3 separate regions of the Homo sapiens genome follow, and regions 1 and 3 are each linked to region 2. Evidence: promoter capture Hi-C in 16 types of primary human blood cells and fetal thymus (Javierre and others, 2016). All regions are on one chromosome and are shown on one strand. The core of a region is centred on a gene start or on the middle of the fragment in contact, and the rest is flanking DNA. Distances in the headings are between cores, read along the strand shown. Region 1 has its middle 340 kb from the start of SEMA3C. Region 2 holds the start of SEMA3C (semaphorin 3C). Region 3 has its middle 370 kb from the start of SEMA3C.

Evidence for each region. The method cuts DNA at HindIII sites, captures the fragments that hold promoters and counts their contacts. A CHiCAGO score of 5 or more calls a contact.
Region 1: a contact is called between a fragment that was not itself captured here and the fragment with the promoter of SEMA3C in region 2, in 1 of 17 cell types (M2 macrophages). The highest score is 6.8, in M2 macrophages.
Region 3: a contact is called between a fragment that was not itself captured here and the fragment with the promoter of SEMA3C in region 2, in 1 of 17 cell types (neutrophils). The highest score is 6.2, in neutrophils.

What each region holds. Positions count from the first base shown.
Region 1 is chr7:81,261,352-81,264,505 of GRCh38, forward strand. No RefSeq gene overlaps it. Among named protein-coding and RNA genes, the nearest start is that of SEMA3C, 340 kb to the left of the region's middle. The HindIII fragment of the contact is 4,916 bases long and covers 1-3,154 here.
Region 2 is chr7:80,917,570-80,920,967 of GRCh38, forward strand. It overlaps SEMA3C (semaphorin 3C), which reads right to left and starts at 1,482. Exons shown (of 18, transcript NM_006379.5): 1 at 1,259-1,482. RefSeq lists an enhancer at 1,002-1,071 and a silencer at 1,619-1,748. The HindIII fragment of the contact is 5,149 bases long and covers 1,121-3,398 here.
Region 3 is chr7:81,290,272-81,293,674 of GRCh38, forward strand. No RefSeq gene overlaps it. Among named protein-coding and RNA genes, the nearest start is that of SEMA3C, 370 kb to the left of the region's middle. The HindIII fragment of the contact is 4,540 bases long and covers 1-3,403 here.

The DNA.
Region 1 (3,154 bases), core at 333-2,832, 340 kb after region 2:
TTCTTCATGTCTCTTGGCTTAATAGCTTATTTCTTTTTAGTGCTGAATAGTATTTCATTATCTGGATGTACCTTATTCATTTATTCATTCATCTACTGAAGGAAATCTTGATTGCTTCCAAGTTTTGGCAATTATGAATAAGCTACTATAAAACTCATGTGCAGGTTTTTGTGTGGACGTAAGTTTTCACCTCATTTTTATAAATATCAAAAAGTACAATTGCTGGATCATATGGTAAGAGTGCATTCAGTTTTGCAAGAAACTACGAAACTTTCTTCCAAAGTAGCTGTACTATTTTGCATTTCTACCATCAGTCAATGAGAATCCCTTTTATTCCACATTCTCACTAGCATTTGATGTTGTTAGTGTTTTTGATTTTGGCTATACTAATAGGTGTGTTGGGTTATCCTGATTTAATTTGCAGTTCCCTAAGGATATCTCATGTTGAGCATCTTTTCATATGCTTATATGCCATCTGTATATCTACTTTGGTGACACACCTATTCAAGTCTTTCATCCATTTTTATTTGTTATCTTATTTTTGAGTTTTGAAAGTTCTTTATATTTTTGATAACACTCCTTTATCAGATAAGTCTTTTGCAATATTTTCTTCCATTTTGTGGTTCATCTTCTCATTCTTTGGGCAACATTTTTGTACAGCAGAAATCTTGAATTTTAAGAGAGTCTCACTAATTAATTTTTTCTTTAATGGATTGTACCTTTGGTGTCAAATCTGAAAGGTCATTGCCATACTCAAAGTCATCAAGGTTTTCTTCACTGTTATCTTCTAGGTGTGATAGGTTTGCCTTTTTCATTTAGGGCTATGATTCATTTTGAGTAAATTTTTTAAGCCTGTAAAATCTTTGTCTAGATTAATTTTTTCACATGTAGATGTTTGATTGTTCCAGCAATATTTCTGAAAAGACTACATTTTCTCCATTATATTGCTTTTGCTACTTTGTCAAAGGTCAGTTGACTACATTATGTTTGTCTTTTTCTGGGCTCTCTATTTTGTTCCATTGATCGATTTGTCTGTTATTTTGCCAATTTCACACTGTCTTGATATTGTAGTTTTTATAGTAAGCCTTAAAGACAGGTGGAAGCAGTCCCCCAATTTTACTCTTCTTCTTCAATATTGTGTTGTCTATTGTGGTTTCTTTTGCATTCCTATATGAATTGAAAATCATTTTGTTGTTATCCATAGAATACCTTGCTTGGATTTTGACTGGGATTATGTTGTATCTATAAATCAAGTCAGGAAAAACAGATATCTTGGCTATATTGAGTCTTCCTATCTATAAAAATGAAATCTCTCTTCATTTATTTAGTTCTCTTTGATTTCAGTCATCAGAGTTTTTGTACTTTTCTTCATGTAGATCTTCTGTATATTTGTTAGACTTATACATATATGTTTTATTTTGGGGGGTTCTAATATAAGAGGTGGTATCATAACACTTAAAATTTAACAAATTATTGGTATATAGAAAAGTGTTTGATATTTATATTTAATTTAGTATCCTGCAAATTAGGTTATTTGCAATTTTTTATTGATTCTTTGGAATTGTACATGTTGATGAACATGTGATCTGTGAACAAAAACAGTTTTTTTCTTCCATCTTAATCAGTATACCTTTCATTTTATTTTCTTGTATTATTGAATTAGCTATGCCTTCCTGTACAATGTTGGAAAGGAGGGGTGAGAGGGTACATCTTCATCTTATTCCTAATGTTATCAGTAAAGCTCCTAGTTTCTCATCATTAAGTACAATGTTAGTTGTCAGGATTTTTTTTCCTAGATTTTTTAAATTATGTTGAGAAAATAACCTGCTGTATTCCTACTTTGCTGAGAAATATCACGAGTGGGTGTTGGATTTGGTCAGTTGCTTTTTTGCATCTATTCATATAATCTTGTGAGTTTTTTCTACCCTGTAGATGTGCTAAATTTTATTAACTAATTATTAAATGTTGAACCAGCCTTGCATACCTGGGTCAAGATGTATAATTTTTTATACAGTCTTGGACTTTTTATACAGTCTTGGTATCTGATATTTTGTTGAGGATTTTTGCATCTCTGTTCATGAAAATAATGGTGTATTGTTTTCTTGTAATGTCTTTGGTTTTGGTATTAAAGTAATATAGTCCTCACTGAATGAGTTAAAAAGTATTCTCTCTTCCAGTATCTTCTGAAAAAGATTATAAGAGTTGGTATAATTTCTTCCTTAAACATCTTGTAGAAGTCACCACTGCTTCCATCTGGGTCTAGTGTTTTTGTTTTCGGAAGGTAATTAATTATTTCTTCAATTTCTTTAATAAATACATGTTATTCAAACTGTCTATCTCCCATTGTATGAGTTTTGGCAGATTGTGTCCTTCAAATAATTGGTCAATACTATCTAGAGTATCAAATTTGTGGACACAGTGTTGTTCATAGTATTTTTGTATTATATTTTAATGTCCATGGGATCTGTAGTGATGTCTGCTCTTTCATTTCTGATAATAATTTGTGCTATTGCAGTTATTTTAAATCTGCTGTGCTATAATTCCAAAATTTGTGTCATATATGTTTCTTATATTTGCTTTGTCTCTTGAAATTATAGGTTTTTGTTCTTGTCTTCTAGTGTGCCTGGCAATTTCCTTTTATATATTTTTTTCAATGTTGTATTGAGCAAAAGGAAGTGAGGTAAATAGGTCTTAATGTGAAGTTCTCTGTTAACCGTGTTTTCAGGTTTGAGCCCAAGCCGAGGTCTGAGGGGAGTCAGTGGGTTGGTGGTGGGTAGCTGGATAAACACTGGAGGAATCATAGGTAGTTGCAACATGGCTTTATTCTCTCTCTGGTCACAAGCTGTATGTACAGCATTAGCAGGGTAATTATACCTTTTACAGACAATAGTGGCTCTGAGCCAACCATGAGCTCCCATGAGTGGTTACCTAATGTGCCTCATGTGGCATGGTTACATAATGTGTAAGGTTGGCACCTGTGCTCCAAACTTGCTGAGTCATGCTTCCCCAGAAGGCTGCCTCAGCTTACTCCTGACTAAAGTGTAGCCATCTCCCTTATACTCCATCCCCTAGGCCAAGGGTGTCTTCTGGGTAGGGACATGTGCCCATAGGGTGGAGTCCTGAATCCATAACCAACAAGAACAATACAGAGAGC
Region 2 (3,398 bases), core at 232-2,731:
AGGTGTCACTGCTTCAAACTATAGATATAAAATTGGTACATGCTATTAACTAATATCTGAATCCCAAGGAAGACCAGATAATGTGTTACCATAAACCTACAGGAGCTCTAGTGGCTACATCATGTAAAATAAACTCAGGACCATTAAAGAAACACAATCATTTTGCTTCTACCATAATTACACAATAAAGTGACCCAAGAGTCCAGTAAAGAAATTTATTTTTACAGGTTACAACAATGCTGATCTTCATTATTTGGCTTTTCAAATTAAAATTTCATAGTCAAAATTATTAAATTCTTTGTAAGAACCACTAACAACTGAAAAAGACAGCTTCATTAATACAGAATAAAAAGAATTAAATGGAATATGCAATTTTAAACAAAAATTGTAAGTAGATTTCCTAGGTGGTGCATATGTTATGAGAGTTAGAAATGAAATTGTACGCTTCTTTTACCACACAGATGGAGGAAACTCTAGAGATGTTTGTGTTGGTAATTTTCAAAAGAAACAGTTTCTTCCTGCTTCCACAACCTCTTCACCCTGTCATCCCTAAATTAACTTAGAAAGAAACTGATTTTATGGGTGACTTTCCCTCAGTAATTTACCCCTTGGTTCTGTTGACTTCATAGTTAAAGCCAAAAGAAAAAAACTATTAATATGCCTAACCTTTGTTATGTTTACTGAGCAAGTTGATATTATTTACACATTTTTTTTACATATTGGTATCTTACCTTATATGTTTCTCCCAAAAGTACATATACAACCAATTGCAAAGAATACTGGTGATACAATGGCAGGTGAAACGAAGATAGTCTACAGGGCAATTTGATTTACATCCCACCTAGTGATGAGGAGTGAAAGACTGAAAGCCAAGTGTCTTAAATACACCCCCGCCTCCCCAACAGTATCTTACAACTTCTTCCCTTTAACTCAGACACAGACGTTCCTCTTGGTGTTTTCACTTCTGCTGATCGCAAACTAACAACACATTAAGAAAAGAATTCTCTTATCTCCTCTGGAGCAATTTTGCCTTTGAAGGCACTGTAATACTCAACTTGAAACTCTCCGCAGGTGTCACCGCCTAAAGAAACAACTCGAGCAGGGCTCTCAGCAAGGGGAAAGCTTCCCTGACAAACCGCGTGTGTTCTTAAGAAAATGTCCAGGCTTGAGCATACCAATGTATGAAAAATCAATATACAGGCCAAAAAAGTTATACTTTGCTAAATCTGTAATGCGGAAAATGACCAATTTAGCTTACCGAGGTTGAAAGAAATCAGCACGGAAAAGTCATCAGTTTGCTACCGGGGTTGGATGCGCTTGTGTCTCCAGTCCTTTTCCCAGACGACCTTATTTTCTAGCACGTCGCAAAGGTGAAATTCTTTCTTCCCGGTCCTCTGAGTTTCTTTGTAAAGGAATCTCAGCGCTGCAGTGCCGCGGCACCCGGAGCTCTTCTCCGCGTCGCTCAATCAAGCACCTCGGAGTGAATGGAAAGTGGCCGGAGGCCGGGGGCGAGCGCTCTTGGTGTCCGATTACAGCGCCGCGGCGCGCGGCTCCGGCTGCCCCGGCGCGCCGCCCTGCAGGCTCGCATCACCACCGCGCAGCCCCGGCCGCATCTCCGCCAGCCGCGAGGCCCCACCCCGAGCGCGCCCGCGAGAGCCTGGCAGGGAGCCGCGGGGGCGGACCGGGCGGGGCCGACCCTTAGAGCTCGCGGCTGGCCAGACGCAAGAATGCGCGGCCGCAGGCTGGAGCCCTAGCTCCGCAACCCTGCTCCTTTCGCAGTCCGCGGCGGAGTGAGCAACTTGCTGGGTGCGCTCCACGGTTTTTGTTGCCGGCGGCTCTCGAAGACTTACACAGGCTTTGCCTGGCCGTAAATATCAAAGTGCAAAGCAGTTGTGGTTTTTTATTTTTGCCAGGGAAGGATCACTGCAGCCTTTTAAGGCAAAGAGATGCGTTTTTAAAAGGACGTGAGTTTTGTCCTTATTCTGCTGCGTTTTTTTTTTGTTTTTTGTTTTTTGTTTTTTGTTTTGTTTTTGGAGAGGGAATCTCACTCTGTCGCCAGGCTGGAGTGCAGTGCAGTGGTGTGATCATGGCTCACTGCAACCTCCGCCTCCCGGGTTCAAGCGATTCTCCTGCCTCAGCCTCCTGAATAGCTGGGACTACAGGCTCCCACCACCACGCCCAGCTAATTTTTGTATTTTTAGTAGAGACAGGGCCAGGATGGTCTGGATCTCTTGACCTAATGGTCCGCCCGCCTCAGCCGCCCAAAGTGCCGAGAGCCACCGCGCCGGGCCTCTGTTGCGTGTTTTCTAAAACAGGTCAAGATAAACGACAATCTTGTTGCACAAGTGTATCCTTTTAATGGGTATTGTTTCCTATTGAGTTTCCTTAATGCCCTGAAAGCAGTAATTCTGTTGACCCCTCCACGTTGACTCATATCCAGTACGTTGTCCCCAACCATACTCCCAAACATAATTACACGAAGAAATTATTTGACAATTCTATGTGGAGAGGCTGTTCTGAGTTATGCCAACAGATTGCCATAACCACACATCTACAGAAATACATCAGAGGTATTTTTCCAGCATTACTTTCAGGTACACTCGTTAAACTCTGGAACTGACTTTGATGTTTAAGTGAAAATTACTTCTCCGGACCACAATAAACTAGATGTTTAAACATCGGGAGAAATGAGCTTTGATCCCCATAAAACAAGCAGGCACTTGCTTAAAATCACTGTGGGGCACAGCCCAGCAGATGTCACTCTACAGAAGGAACGTGGAGTGTAATATCTCCACCTTATACCTGACAATTCACATAATGAAACAATCATTAAATTCTTATAAACTGTATCATAGAAAACCCCTCTGGGGGTGCAAAATCATTGTTCAGTGGGAAAGTTGAATGAAATCTCAGGTAGGAGGAAGAGGTGAGTGAGACACATCTTTCATGTGTCTGGGGCCCACCTCTTGTGTTCAGTAAACATACACGTGTCTCAGACTCACGCTGCATAGTCAAGGAACGAAGGATCAAGTCAAATAATGCAAATTTATGAGTTCAAAAATACTATTCCAGGGCTAATATTATCTCCAAACGTCAAAAAATTAATATAGTAACAACAGTTAAAATTATTTTTTGTGATGATGCGTGAGAAGATCCTTGACATAAATTTGTAATAAGGAATTTAACCCCCCAAAAACTGACAATATTAAAATCCAGATGTCAATGTGAATAAGCACTGTGCGTGCTTCTCTGAAATACTTCTGAAACTGAGTAAGATCCAGGTTATATACTCTCCACTATTATCCTCCTTCTGATATCTCATTCGGCATTTATATATTAAGCAGGGAGAAGAATAAATCATTAGAAAGATGAGTGTGTGGATTAAATTAATTTAGAAA
Region 3 (3,403 bases), core at 25-2,524, 370 kb after region 2:
GCCTTCTTCCAACAATGAAGATTGCAATTCAACATGAGATTCGGGTGGAGGAAACAGAGCCAAACCATATTAATATTAGGCAGAAAAAACACATCTTTGGAAGATCCAACCTTCAATTCAGGCCTCGACATTTTCATAAATGAAGGTCTATGTTTAAAAATAATGTTTTAAATGAATTGAAAATATCATTAAAATGTAATAGACCATATAAATGGAACTATATGTGTGTATATATGTATATACATTTGTGTATATATGTATATACATTTATGTATATATGTAAATATACTTGTGTATACACACTTGTGTATATATACATACACACTTGTGTATATATACAACTTTTAGAGTAAAAACTATAATTATTAATATTAAGAATTCAACATTTATTATTAGAAGCAGATTAGACAAAGTTTGGTTTTCTCTCAGGTCCTAAGAGCCATCTGCATCTTGTGACAGCCTCCGTTTTCAAAGCCAGCAACAGAGTCTCCCTCATGTTTGATCTCTTTTATGCTTCTTACTTATTTTTCAGGAAGAAACCATTTCTTTTTCAGAATTAAGTCAATTTCTCCAAAGTTAATTTCTCTTTCTAAAGTCAATGGTGTCATATAACCTAATCATAAGGGTGATTATCCCATGGGATTACACAGGAGGTGTATAATCTCTGGGGACGAGGATCTGGGAGCTGTCATAGAATTCTGCCTGCCATAGATAATATGAAAGAGGAATTAAGCTACATGGAGAATAAACAATTTTAATATCTAATCACTGGAAAGGTGAAATATTGAGGAGGCAATATTTAAATAGCTACTGGTTGATAATTTTCAAGGAATTAATGAGAAAATTCTAATATTGCGTTATAGGAAATCAAATAACACCCAAGCAGCATAATTATACAGACATACACAACCAACCACAGAAAAAAAACCATAATGTTTGTACCAAATATCAAGGAAAAGGTATCTTAAAATCTTAAGCCACCAAAGAAAAAATTTACTACCTAAAAGGAAATGAATGACAATTGTTGACTACTTAAAAACGACGGAAGGTAGAAGGAGTATGAAAATACCCCCAAGTAATGAGATAAAATATCCATTCTCTAGCATTAAATACACTGTAAAATTTACTTCTCAGAACAAGAAAAAACAATTTTAATTTCAGAAGAAAAATTTCAATTAAACTCTAAACAACAGAGAGGATTGCCACCAACAGACCCTGAATAACGGAAATACCAAAGCTATAATTAAGGGGGGGGGGGAAATGGATCCCATTAGGAGATATGAGGTACAAGGAACAATGCTAAACAATGAGCATGGAAATTGGTATACATAGGGATACATACTAATACACATTTTATGTATAAAACAGTTAAAATTCTATAATATAATGCAATAAATAACTAAAAATAGGATGTGATTTAGAATAGAATGAACACAGCTTAAAGTGTTTTAATGTTCTCATAGTGATGTGATTAAGGATGAAATTGTTGGTTATTTTTGAATATTGATGAACAGAGTATGTATGTTAAATTTTTTAGAATAACCAAGAAGAGGATAGAAATATAACAGGTACTACAAATACTAGAAAAGGAAACTGTACCACGAGAAAGCAACGTTTAGTCATAAAAAAGTAAAGAACAATTTAAAAAGGAATAAAAAGGGGGATGAATATTTTATAAATAAATATTTATAAATATAGTACTTTATGAATAAATCCAAATAAATATACAATGACATCAATTAACTGACTCCTATAGCAAATATTATAGGCTATAGTTAAATAGAACCAAAAAATAATACTATATGTTGCTTATAAGAAACATATCTAAAAGGTAAACTAAGTTTGACCATAATAATTAATCTGATTAACAGTGAGTTGGGATAAAATCTCTGTAATCTGTTTTATGCAGCATTTAACTAAAGCATCCACTAACATGACTCTAAGCAGCAGTATGAGACCAAACTTCAGTGTTGACCTCAATCATGTTCCCCAGAGACAATGTCTGACCCAATCAGCTGAACAAAGGCCATAAATGCTCAATGTCTATCTTAGAAAGCTAGATGGCTTTCTGCTTAATTTTCTGTACTGACCTTTCTACTTGGCCTAAGACGTTAATCCAGATATAGCAGGATGTGTTAATGATTGAACAAATACTACCTTGGTCCACAAAGAAGTCTAGCTAGTTCTGTCACCAAAAACAGCCTTGTCCAATGAGTTGAGACTGATTTGAATGTCTTTCATGTTGGAGTTGATACCATTAATCACATCAGCTAAAATCAGGGACAAATTTTATACCACATCTTCTAACTGGACAATGTCCATGATAGGGATCATCCCCACAGAGCATGTAGCAATACCAAGTCAACTATACCAATGGCAAGTTCCCACTGGTCACCAGAGGTAGCTTCAGTCACTTGAGTACTACATATCTATGGACAGTATTGCCTTGAAGACTTTTGGTCTTTAATGTCTGTTATGACCATCCTTAATATGCAAATCATTGTGTTTTCAGTAGGGAGGCAAATTAATGCCTGACTTTAACAGTCCTACCTTCAGCATACCTGACATACAATGGTGAAACAGCGCAGGGAAATGCAACAAATACTCCTACTGGCAATTGAAAGAATCAGAGCAAAACAGCAGATAGTGGTCCTTCAAACTTCTGAGATCTTCTTGGGCAGATACTTAAATAGCTTGCCATCCTGGGAATGGGATATGTCTCATGTTCAGCTCTGATTCTGCTCCTTGGGAGTAGCCATTTTTATCCTCATTCTCTTTTGGTGATTCTTTCTTTTCCATTATCATCTTTAGCTACCTGTGAAGTGATTATGCAGTTTCACATGCTCTTTGGAGACTGACGAGCTTTTTCAACTTGCTTCCTACTCTTAGAAGGTTGACAGCCCAAAGATTGGTTATTTTGATTCTTATATATTTTTAGTCACAGATTCTGATAGCTCAGCTGGTGGTTTTATTGGCATTACAGCTGTCTACAATTTTTAGTAGATGTATCTAATTCTTCTTAGCTCCATGTGCCATAACTGTAGCCATTATTCTTTTTATAATATAATTCTTTAATCTTCTGTATTTTGTCTCCTTCCTCAGATTCTCCATCGAAAGATGGAGATTGTATCCATCAGGCTTTGTATCTATCAGGATTGTATCTATCAGGCTTCAGAAACAATACAGTTAAGTTTTAGGAACCACTTCACCCCAAACCCCATCCCAAACATTTTGGCTAATTGAAATCACATATTAGGGGCCACCTTAATTGATTCAAAGTTTTAACAATGAGTATGGTCTTTTTGACCACTGAGGAAGTTGAGATGTTAAGTAATTTACCCAAATCACAAAGCTAATAAGTGACAGATCTGGACATTGAACCTGGACAATGCCTATAGATGCT